Linked DNA regions of Homo sapiens: region 2 is linked to region 1. Evidence: promoter capture Hi-C in human tissues and cell types (Jung and others, 2019). All regions are on one chromosome and are shown on one strand. The core of a region is centred on a gene start or on the middle of the fragment in contact, and the rest is flanking DNA. Distances in the headings are between cores, read along the strand shown. Region 1 holds the start of HPSE (heparanase). Region 2 overlaps HELQ (helicase, POLQ like).

The links. Contacts are between HindIII fragments. The study calls those that stand out against the background at their distance.
Region 2: a fragment that was not itself captured here is called in contact with the fragment with the promoter of HPSE in region 1 in 2 of the 25 tissues and cell types used here (IMR-90 fibroblasts and adrenal gland).

What each region holds. Positions count from the first base shown.
Region 1 is chr4:83,333,208-83,338,613 of GRCh38, forward strand. HPSE (heparanase) reads right to left here and starts at 1,641. Exons shown (of 12, transcript NM_001098540.3): 1 at 1,349-1,641. The coding sequence starts at 1,575. The HindIII fragment of the contact is 4,578 bases long and covers 1-4,132 here.
Region 2 is chr4:83,413,617-83,419,620 of GRCh38, forward strand. HELQ (helicase, POLQ like) reads right to left here. Exons shown (of 18, transcript NM_133636.5): 16 at 4,477-4,590; 17 at 3,115-3,249. Among named protein-coding and RNA genes, the nearest start is that of HELQ, 39 kb to the right of the region's middle. The HindIII fragment of the contact is 4,716 bases long and covers 1,279-5,994 here.

The sequences.
Region 1 (5,406 bases), core at 391-2,890:
TCAAACACTTACTATGGGTCAAACACTGAGAAGCTCTTACCATATCATCAAATCCTCGGGCAATAATCCTTGAGGCAAGCTTGAGAAATTCCATTCTACAGCTGAAGAAATCAAGGTTGGTGTGGCCAAGAGATATGGAAAAACCAAGTCACTCATCTTTGCCAGAGCTGAGAGTCAAGCCAGGATGGTCTGTCCATCTCTTAACCAGTACACTACCCATTAAATTAGCGCTGGCAACTATAGTGTGGGCTCAGGGAGGACAGCATCTAGGTATTTGACACAGAGGTGAGATAATGGTGATCTTTCCCTCTATCTGGGCTGGTCAAGATGTGGCCATCTCTGGAGGCTCCCAGGGCCTAAATAAGAGGCCTAGAAGACCTGGGATTGTCCCTGTAGCTCCCCATCTTGGAGTCAGCCTGCATTCATGGGGCAGGAGCCCTGAACCTGCATCAGGTTCCTTCTTTCTCAGGTAAGGAAAAAACTTAGAGCTGATAAGGCAGCACCACATTTTGCAGCCCCATTTTGGAGAGACATCTTTTTATTAGGACTTTGTAAGTCACTGCAGTAGTCTCCTAGGTCTCATTTATTGAATATTTAGATTTTTATTCCTGTTCTGTGACGCCCTTTTCATCTGCCTAAAAAAAAAAAAAGAAAAGAAAAAAGAAAAAGAAAAGAAAAGAAAGAGAAATCTTCCTAACACAGTCTTAAATACAGAAGGCTATGCACAATCTTACTTGTCCTACACTGCACAGCAAATCAAGCACTCACAGGCCTTCAGGTGCACCTGCCTGGTTTCCCTCCTCTTGGCTAGGGAAGTACTGGGGCAAGTGGGCAGTTTCTTTTTCAAATTTCCACTTATACCTGACCTTAGGTGGTGCCTATTCAACACTTACAGAATGAATGAAACAAAAAGGCTCATTTAGAGTGGGCGCTAAACAATGTGTACACATGGACTTAGTGGAATAGTAGACACTGGAGACTCCAAAAGGTGGGAGGGTGGGAGAGGGATGAGGGATGAGAAATTACCTATTAGATACAATGTACAACATTCGGGTGACAGTTACACTAAGAGCCCAGATGCCACCACAATGCAATATACCCATGGAACAGAACTGCACTTGTAACCCCTAAATCTATTTTTTAAATGATACCCCCCAAAAAGCAGTTTGGGGTCTGAGAGTAAGGGAGGGAGAGGGAGAATGAGAGGCGGGAAGTGGGGTGGGGAGAGACAGGCGGGGAGGTTCCGGTGTGAAGTTGTTTCCGCGCAAAAGAAGGAGAGCGGCTGGCGGGGCAGACATAGGTGTCAGGAGGACAGGAAAGGGGACAGGACCAGGAGGCTGGCGCTTACCCCAGGAGGATGAGGAACCGCGGGTCCGTGGCCAGGTTGGCGTCAATGGTGACGGACAGGAACGAGGGGCTCACCAGGTGCAGCGGCTCCTGGGTGAAGAAGTCCAGGTCCACGACGTCCTGTGCTTGCGCAGGTCGGGGCAGGGCGCCAGGGGAGAGGGGACCCAGCGGCCCCAGGAGCAGCAGCATCAGCGGCGGCGGCAGCGCAGGCTTCGAGCGCAGCAGCATCTTGGGCTCACCTGGCTGCTCCCCCCGCCAGCTGCCGCGCAGCGGAGAGTCGAGAGCTCTAGCACTTCCTCCCGCCGAGCCCCAGCGCCCTTTTCTCCTTTCCTCCGCCCCGTTACGCCTCCTCACCCCTCCCACTGCGCCCTCCATCCCTCCCACTCCTCTTCTGCATCCCTCCCACTGCTCCCAATCCAACCCCGCCCCGCCTGCCCGGCTCTCTCCTACTTCCTTGCTCGCTTTCCCCTCGGTGGCGGTCACGTTCACTTACGAAATCACCCACACCCACTTGAAGGGTGCGGAGATGGCCGGGATCCAAGCGCCCGGGAGGCCTGGGGAGGAGCGCCCGGGGAGGAGCGCCCGGGGAGCAGCGCTGGGCATCCCGGACCAGGCTTCCTGACGCACGTGTTCTGCGCGCTCTCGTGGGAACCCAGCGTTTCCGACTCCCAGATCCCATTCTGATGGCGCCGGGTATCCCTCTGACCCTCGAGTAAAACCTCCAATGGAGTATTCATCCCTTCCTCTCCCATCTAGCTTATAAACACTTGCTTGTCACTTGAGCCAGCCAAAATCTGATTGTCCTCTGGCCAGGCAGTTTCTCAGGTATTTTACTTTTGCTTGAAAAAATCTGGCCTCAGCATACGCTAAACTGCAGCTGGAAAGAGATCAACCACCCAAAATTCTTTATCAACTTCTCATTAAGACAATATTTAGCAATCTTAAAGGGTTAGTTGCTCCAATGTCTGGAACTCAGGACCTGAAGCCCCCATACAAAGTGTAGAGTACGGACTGCCCCTGAATTTGGAGCCTTTGCCAAATTTCTCCTCTGCGCATTTATCTTTCGCTGTTGGTCAGACTTTTCTTCAGCTTTTCCTTGATGCTTACACTGATGTATAATCATAGCAAGCATCGCACGCTTAGTGCCTACTGTATGCCTGATACAGGTGCTTTACTTGTGTTCTCTTCCCTTCTCACAACCCTGCCAAGTGCATACTGTCCTTGTTTTACACATGCGGACCCAAGCTCTGAGACAGTAACTGGGTGAAGTGTCAGAATCGGGATGTGAAGTGTCAGAATCGGGATGTGAATGCAGTTACAAAACCTCGAGCAGATGGCAGTGTGTTTCAGCTGAAATGTAACTTCCCTCAAGGAAGCTTTCTCTCAATCTCCAGGCAGCTCTCCATGACACACTCTCATAGCATCCTCAATTTGTTAGACACTCTCGTAGCATCCTCAATTTGTTAGACACTCTCGTAGCATCCTCAATTTGTTAGTATTGTGATGTTGCTCAACATTGGCTTCATCTACTAGATTATATGCTCCACCAAAACAGAGATTAAGTTTGTCTCACACGCTATGCTAGCCATAGCTCAGGCATGTGATCATGTTGGTGCTTAGTAAGAGTCTAATAAATATTGGTTGAGTAAGCAAATAACACCAAAACCCTTAGATTTTTCCACTTGAGATTGTACCACCAATAAGGCAACAAATAAAAATAGATTATTTTGAAATGCATATCTAATTTGCATAAATCAGGCCAGGCATGGTATGTGATGCCAGTGATGCCATCATGCCTGTGATGCCAGCATTTTGGGAGGCCAAGGTGGGAGGATTGCTTGAGCCGAGGAATTCAAGAACAGCCTGGGCAACATGATGAAACCCCATCTCTACAAAAAATACAAAAAATTAGCCAGGCGTGGTGGCCCGTGCCTGTGGTTCCAGCTACTGGGGAGGCTGAGGTGGGAGGTTTATTTGAGCCTGGGAGGTGGAGGTTGCAGTGACCCTTAATCACACCACTGCACTCCAGCCTGGGTGACAAAGTGAGACCCTCTCTTAAAATAATAATAATAATTATCATTATTTGCATAGATCTACCTATTCTTAAGCAACTTAAAAGCTAAGCTCATAGTGAGTTTTGCAACTAGAATCAGGTTCATATCCTACAATTACTGTATACATATGAAAAAAAATTCACACATAAACACCACACTACCAGAAGAGTGTAATAATATGGTAGCAGACGTGGAGTTGGAAAAACAGAAGTTTCTTTTCCACATTTGTCATGACATTAATCTTACACCCCACCCCATGCCCCTGACTCCTGTTGTGAGTCAACAGTCATACCAATTTCTTTCTTTTTTTTTTTTTTTGAGACGGAGTCTCGCTCTGTCGCCCAGGCTGGAGTGCAGTGGCACCATCTCGGCTCACTGCAAGCTCTGCCTCCTGGATTCACGCCATTCTCCTGCCTCAGCCTCCCGAGTAGCTGGGACTACAGGGGCCTGCCATCACCCCCGGCTAATTGTTTTGTATTTTTAGTAGAGATGGGATTTCACCATGTCTGTCAGGATGGTCTCAATCTCCTGACCTCGTGATCTGCCCGTCTCAGCCTCACAAAATGCTAGGATTGCAGGCATGAGCCACTGTGCCATGCCCAGTCATACCAATTTCTTTAACATGTTTGGGTGATTTGAAAAGTGGACCATTGCAAGTTTTCTAAATAGTGCATCCTTGTGGTCTACATGTGAGTTACTAATATGGAAACGGGGGGCCGGGTGTGATGGCTCACACCTGTAATCCCAGCACTTTGGGAGGCCAAGGCGGGTGGATCACTAGAGCCCAAGAGTTCAAGACCAGCCTGGGCAACATGGTGTAGCCAGGAGTGGTGGCGCAGACCTATAATCCAAGCTACTCAGGAGGCTGATGCATAAGAATTGCATGGGAGGCAGAGATTGCAGTGAGCCAAGATCATGCCGCTGCACAATGGGAGACAGAGCAAGACCCTGTCAAAAAAAAAAGAAAAAAAAGAAAAAGAAAAGAAACTGGGAAAACAAAAACGAGGGGGCAGAGAAGCAATTTGCACACATGATGATCTGTTGGCTGAGATCTTGCTCCTGCTTCTAATTTGGTTTGATTTACAATGTCTGATAAGGATGTATGATATGGATACATAGGAAGGAGGAACATATAGGAATATTAATAGGAACTATCATTTCAGAGATATTTTATAATAAGACACCTTAATTTTTATAGCAAGTTACAGCTACATACATCCTAGCTAGAGCCCTTTTTCATACATCTTAGCCCTGCAGCTTGATGGGATGTACAATCTTGGGCCAGATCGTCAATTTCCAAGAGCCTCAATTTCTTCATCTATATAGTAGGGGTAATAATACATATTTCATAAGATTTTTTTTTTTTGAAACAGGGTCTCACTCTGTCACCCAGGTTGGAATACAGTGATGTGATCTTGGCTCACTGAAACCTCCACCTCCACACTCAAGCAATCCTCCCACCTCAGCCTCCCAAGTAGCTGGGACCACAGGTGTGCCCCACCATGCCCTGTTAATTTTTTGCATTTTTGGTAGAGATGGGGTTCCTCCATGTTGCCCAGGCTGGTCTCAAATTGCTGAGCTCAGAGATCCACCCACTTATGCTTCCCAAAGTGCTGGGATTATAGGCATGAGCCACCATGCCTGGCCCATAGTCTTTTTTTAAAGAATTAATTGACAATAATGTAACACAGCTAGCTCCATCTACAATGTGAGGTATGTGTTTAACAGATGAGAGATTATTTTTTAAAAAATTATTACCCCCACTTAATCTTTGCAATAACCTTGTAAAGTAGATTTACAGCTTTCTGATTCCAAGCCCAGAGTTTTTCCACTACCTCACGCAGATTTAGGGACTCACAAATTATGTGATGAAAATGATTTAGAAATAAAAAACTTTAAATGAACTAGAAAGTTTATGTGAACGCTTTATTAATTATGGGGCTGGGTGCAGTGGCTCACACCTGTAATCCCAGTGCTTTGGGAGGCTGAGGAGGGAGAATCGCTT
Region 2 (6,004 bases), core at 2,387-4,886, 82 kb after region 1:
GGTCTTAACGGTTTTCTAGTAACCAACAGTATGCAGCGGAAATGACACTGTATAACTTCTGAGGTTGGCTCAGAAGACTTCTTGCATTTTCTGCCTGGATATCTTAAAATGCTCATTTTCTGGACATTCCCTCTCAAAACCTAGTTTCTATGCCATAAAGACTGAAGCCACATGGAAAGGCCATATGTAGTTGCTCCAGTCAAAAGCTGAAAAGCCCCAGTTGCCTCCAATTATCAGCTGTTGGTCATGTGAGTGAGTCACCTGGGTCATCCAGCTCTGCTGGGCCTTATGACTATAGCTCCAGTCAACTTCTGACTACAGTTGCCTGAGACCCAAGTGAGAAGCACCCAGCTGCACCCCTCCAGAATTCCTAATCTACAAAAACATGAGCAAAATAAGATGGCTGTTTTAAGCCACTAAATTTTGGAGTTAGACTCTGTTATGTAGCGTATGTACGTGGAAAAATCAGAATTAGGGTTATCAGTATGAGCTCATGGCCTTCAGTAATTTACACATAAGTATAGAAAAATACATAGACATACATCAGCTAGGGTGGTCCTAGCTAGTGCCCTAGTTCCATGGGCCCTAGAGCTGACTTCTGGGCAAGTTCAACAGTACATTGTAGGCAGCTTCCTTGCAGTTTTGTCAGCACTCCGTGGGCAGTTTCTGCTTATTAGCCTTGGCTGTAGCACCACAACAAACTTCCCAGCATCCAGTGGCAATGAAGTCCGGATCCCATCCACAGGGGTGCTGTGGGGTGGGGGTGGACCGTCTCTCAAATGTATTCCTTCCTGAATTCTTTAAAGTTCTGTTGACCCCTTAGACGCCTGTTCAAATTACTGTGTGGTTTCTGCCTCCTAATGATTAGATGCTGACAGACACAGCCAGAAAGTAAGAAAATACTTCAAGAATGATGATGACAGGTCAAAAAGCCACACAAACCAGTTTTCAGGGGCTTCCACTGGCCAAATCTGAGGCCATTTGAGCACCAAAATAAGTAATGTTATTAATGGGTTATAACCCATTGAATATGTTTGAACCTATGAGCACATACTGATAAATGAATAAATAAAGGAAAAGCTTTTCCTCACAGTAAAACATCAGTAAATAAATCCAGAAGGGATAATGAAGTTAGAAAATCACCTCTTGATAAGCATCATGGAAATAATGGAGTTAGGCAAACATCACTAGTAAATGCTGAAACAAGTGTGTGAAAGTTTAATGAACCTTTTTTTTTTAGGTGCTATAGCAAAGGAAATGACTATAACTTCATCCCTACCAACCCCAAGAACTCCTAATTTAACGGGACAAGGTCAATCTTAGTGGTTTCATCTATAAATTGGGGGTAACACTGACTTTGTCCACCTCATAGGTTTGTTGTAAAGAACAATTAAGGTAATGTAAGCAATGTGAGCACCATTAAAAAATGATGGAAAGCTAATTCTGATTTATATATGAAAATAGTAAAACAATGAAGCTTCAAAGAAGCCAAGCAATTTCAGACTTAGAACCACAGTTGAGATCAAGAAGGAAACAATCTCAAATTGCTGTGGAATGGCTTTACCCACAGGGAGCAGAAGGCAATGGCAAACTGGGTTGCATCTAGCAAAGGGTAACTAGGACAGTGAATGGCCTAAAACTTGATTATTTAATACAGATAAAAGCAACAGAAAAGAGAAACCCTTGGGGGCAATAAGAGCTGTTTTTGAATATGTGAAAAACAGCATACAAACAAAAAAAGAGTCCAGTTCCAGAGGTAGTACTCTGATGCAATGGTAGAAATTTTAAGAAGGCAAAATTTAGCCTCAGTATATCAGGATAATTTTTGTAACACTAAGAGTGTACAAAAATAGACAACCTAATTTTTGATGATGCAGGCTCCTTGTCAGTGCTGGTGCTCAAAGGTGGAGAGACCAGATGCTGGGATGCTGAGGAAAGGATTCCTGTGAAGAGAACTTTGGGAGACAGAGCTCAGTGACTTCCAGGGTTCTTTATACTTCAATGAACCCTTGAAATTGTCTTTTTTTTTTTTTTAAGACAGACTCTCACTCTGTCACCCAGGTTGGAGTGCAGTGGCATAATCTTGGCTCACTACAACCTCCACCTCCTGGGTTCAAGTGATTCTCATGCCTCAGCTTCCTGAGTAGCTGGGATTACAGGTGTGGGCCTACAGGTGTGGGCCACCACGCCTGGCTAATTTTTATACTTTTAGTAGAGACAGGGTTTTACCATGTTGGCCAGGCTGGTCTCAAATTCCTGGCTTCAAGTGATCCACCTGCCTTGGCCTCCCAAAGTGCTGGGATTATAGGTGTGAGCCACCGAACCCAGCCATTTTTTTTTTTTTTTTTGAGACAGAATCTCGCTCTGTCAGCCAGGCTGGAGTGCAGTGGTATGATCTCGGCTCACTGCCATCTCCGTCTCCTGGGCTCAAGCAATTCTCCTGCCTCAGCCTCCCGAGTAGCTGGGATTATAGGCGTGTGCCACCAAGTCTGGCTAAATTTTTGTATTTTTAGTGGAGATGGGGTTTCACCATGTTGGCCAGGCTGGTCTCGAACTCCTGACCTCAGGTAATCCACCTGCCTCGGCCTCCCAAAGTGCTGGGATTACAGGCATGAGGCACCATGCCTGGCATTTTTTTTGGGGCGGGGGGACAGGGTCTCAATCTGTCATCCTAGCTCAGTGCAGCCTTGAACTCCTGGGCTCAAGCGATCCTCTTGCCTCAGTCTCCGGAGTAGCTAGAACTACAGCACAAACCACCACACCCAGTTAGTTTTTAAATTTTTTTGCAGAAACAGAGTCTCATTATGTTGCCCAGGCTGGTCTCAAACTCCTGATTTCAAGCCATCCTCCCCATCTTGACCTTCCAAAGAGCTGGGATTACAGGCATGAGCCACCACTGAAATTTTCTTTATTTTTTAGCAGGTCCTTTTTTTGTTTTGCAAGGCTTGTGTCACAACAGATGCATTATTTTTACTCACAAATAAGAGTATGTACTTTTGTATCTATAGAAATAAACAGTTATGCAATGTGAAATGTTTTTGTTCTGATGTCTATAATACAAGGAAATAACACTACGCAAGATTATTAAGGTTAAAAAATGGTTTGTTTGCTTACCTTTGCTGATGAAACAATTTGCTTGGCTTGGCGTCTTGATAAATGATCAATTGTCCTTACGAGCACTTCAGGATTTGCATTAGCTAAGTGCATTAGACTTTTGTAACCTGCACTGTATAACTGTTTTGCTCGACCCTGAAAAGTGTTACAAAAATCAGTAGGATAATAGTTTGGGATTAGAAAAAAGAAAATTAAGCACTTTACTGAAAAGAACAAAAACTGCATGTAAGAGACTGGGATAAAATAAAGTAAATATGAAGAGACAAGACATGAGAATACTGAGGAATTTTTAAAAATGCATTTGGGTGGTTCCAAACTGACTACAAGGTAACTATAGTTCTATGCAGCTTGAGTCAACTGATGTGTGCTGCAATCAAGAAAAGAAACCCACTTAGGTTGGTGGCATCATCTCATATCCTCAAGTAAAATGTTCTAGTCCAGTATCTTTCTTTCTTTCTTCTTTTTCTTTTCTTTTCTTTTTTTTTTTTTTGAGAAAGAGTCTTGCTCTGTTGCCCAGGCTGGAGTGCAATGGTGCGATCTTGGCTTATGGCAACCTGCACCACTCACGTTCACAAAATTTTCTTGCCTCAGCCTCCCAAGTAGCTGGGATTACAGGCGCACGACACCATACTTGGCTAATTTTTGTATTTTTAGTAAAGATGGGGTTTCACCATGTGGGCCAGGTTGGTTTTGAACTCCTGACCTCAATTGATCCACCCACCTTGGCCTCCCAAAGTGCTGTGATTGCAGCATGAGCCACATCATCAGGCCAAGTCCAATATCTTTCAGTGTTCTCACCATCTACTCAGGGGACCACTGGTGTCTCTCTCTGTGTGTGTGCGTGTGTCCTAAGCAGAACTCCTCTGACTCAAGAACTGAATAACAGAGAATAAACTGAAGTTGAGGGTTGGCTGAAAATAGAAAGCTGGAAAACCAGTTGCGAACCCTTTCTTCTTACTCTCTTAGAAAAAATACAAATGACCCTTTCTGCCACTGAATCACCATTATCTTAAACAAGCACTGAGTCCAAACTGACAGAAGGTAATTCTTCAAAGGAGTGGAGGAAGGAAGAAGTGTTAAGGACAACCGGTAGCACAACATACTTGGAGACAGTCACTCCCACCCTTCCTGTTATGTTTTTTTTTTCACAACTGAGATTTTTCATCAGGTATGCCATCTAGTAACAGCGGATTTCTGGAAGGCCATAACAGCTATTTGTTTTAAATAAAAGATTCCCATGACAAATGAGCAATTAAGGCTCTTGCTATCACTTCCTCTGTATTAAGACTTCAGAAAATAATAAAACCTGGCTTCTGTATTAATTCAACATAATTTCAATTGGGAAACCAACAAGCTACTGACCTCTAAAACTCCAGTAACTTCCATGAGAGGGATTAATTCTGCCTTTACACAGTAAGTCAGCTTCTTGGTAAGTTCTACCAAAAGGGCTCTGTAAACCCAAAACTCCTCAAGCTCCTGTAGAACACAAAGAAATATATAAAATTTAAATTTTGTAAGTTATTTCAAAGTTTGGTTTGTGTGATAGGGGGCTCAGAGAGAATGTTCCTTACATAAGTTCTGGAACTTGAGTTAAGCCAGAGATGAAAGATGATTCTAAGCAAAACAGATGTGAAGAAACATGGGGAGGACCCTGAGGAATTTGAGGAACTGGTTTTAGGATGAGGAAAAGATTGAAAATTGAAAAATAAGTCAATAAAAAGAGTTCTGGTCATTTTAATCAAAATACCTGGAAGAAAATGCATAGTTTTTCTTTCCCAAGTGACTAAAAACAATTCCTACATCTGGAATTTATCTGGAAGATGAATATTAAATATGGAAATATTCAAATGTAACATGATGTTCAATGCAACAATACAATAATAAAAATACTGGAAGCCATGAGTCAATAACTGTTAAAGCTAGAAGGGTAAATGGGAATTCAATATAATATTTTGTCATAGATATTTGCAATATTCTATTATAGTAGTTTATTTTATTTTAAAGTTCCCTTTCTAGCCTTTGGATATCACTGTGAATGTACATGATGAATGGAACAGCATTAGCTAGCCATCTTGTGACTACTAAGAAAGAAATCAACGTAATGAAGATGGCAGAGTAAAAAGAAGAAAACCTTGAACAGAACTATTGAATCAATCAATCCTGAAGCTGCCTTAGTTCTGGCATGCCTGTTATATAAAATAATTATTTTTTCTTATTGTTTAAACCTTGATGGGTTTTTCTGTAACTTGTAGTTAAAAGCATCTTAACTAACACAATTAATGTACCATTTCATACCATTTATAACTTTTTAAAATAAAAAATACCTTAAAACAAGCTTGTCCAACCTGTGGCCCACAGGCCACATGCGGCCCAGGATGGCTTTGAATGTCACCCAAAACAAATTGGTAAACTTTCTTACAACACCATGAGATTTTTTTTTTTTTTTTTTTCTAGCTCATAAGCTATTGTTAGTGTATTTTATGTGTGGCTCAAGACGATTCTTCTTCCAATGTGGCCCAGGGAAGCCAAAAGATTGAACACCCCTGCCTTGAAATATTGAAAGTAGACCAGGTGTGGTGGCTCATGCCTGTAATCCCAGCACTCTGGGAGGCCAAGGTGGGAGGACTGCTTGAGTCCAGGAGTTTGAGGCCAGCCTGGGCAACACAGCAAGATCCCTGCCTCTATTGATAATAATTTGAAAAATTATATACATGTAATATATATCATATAATTATATATTTATATTATATGTAATTATATAATTATGATATATATAAATGAAGTAAATTAATTAGAGTACAAATTGTCAGCTAGATTTTTCTTAGGATTAGTCATCAAATTATTGCTGTTTTTCTTGATGCTTCATAGAGTTTTTTACTTAAACAATTCT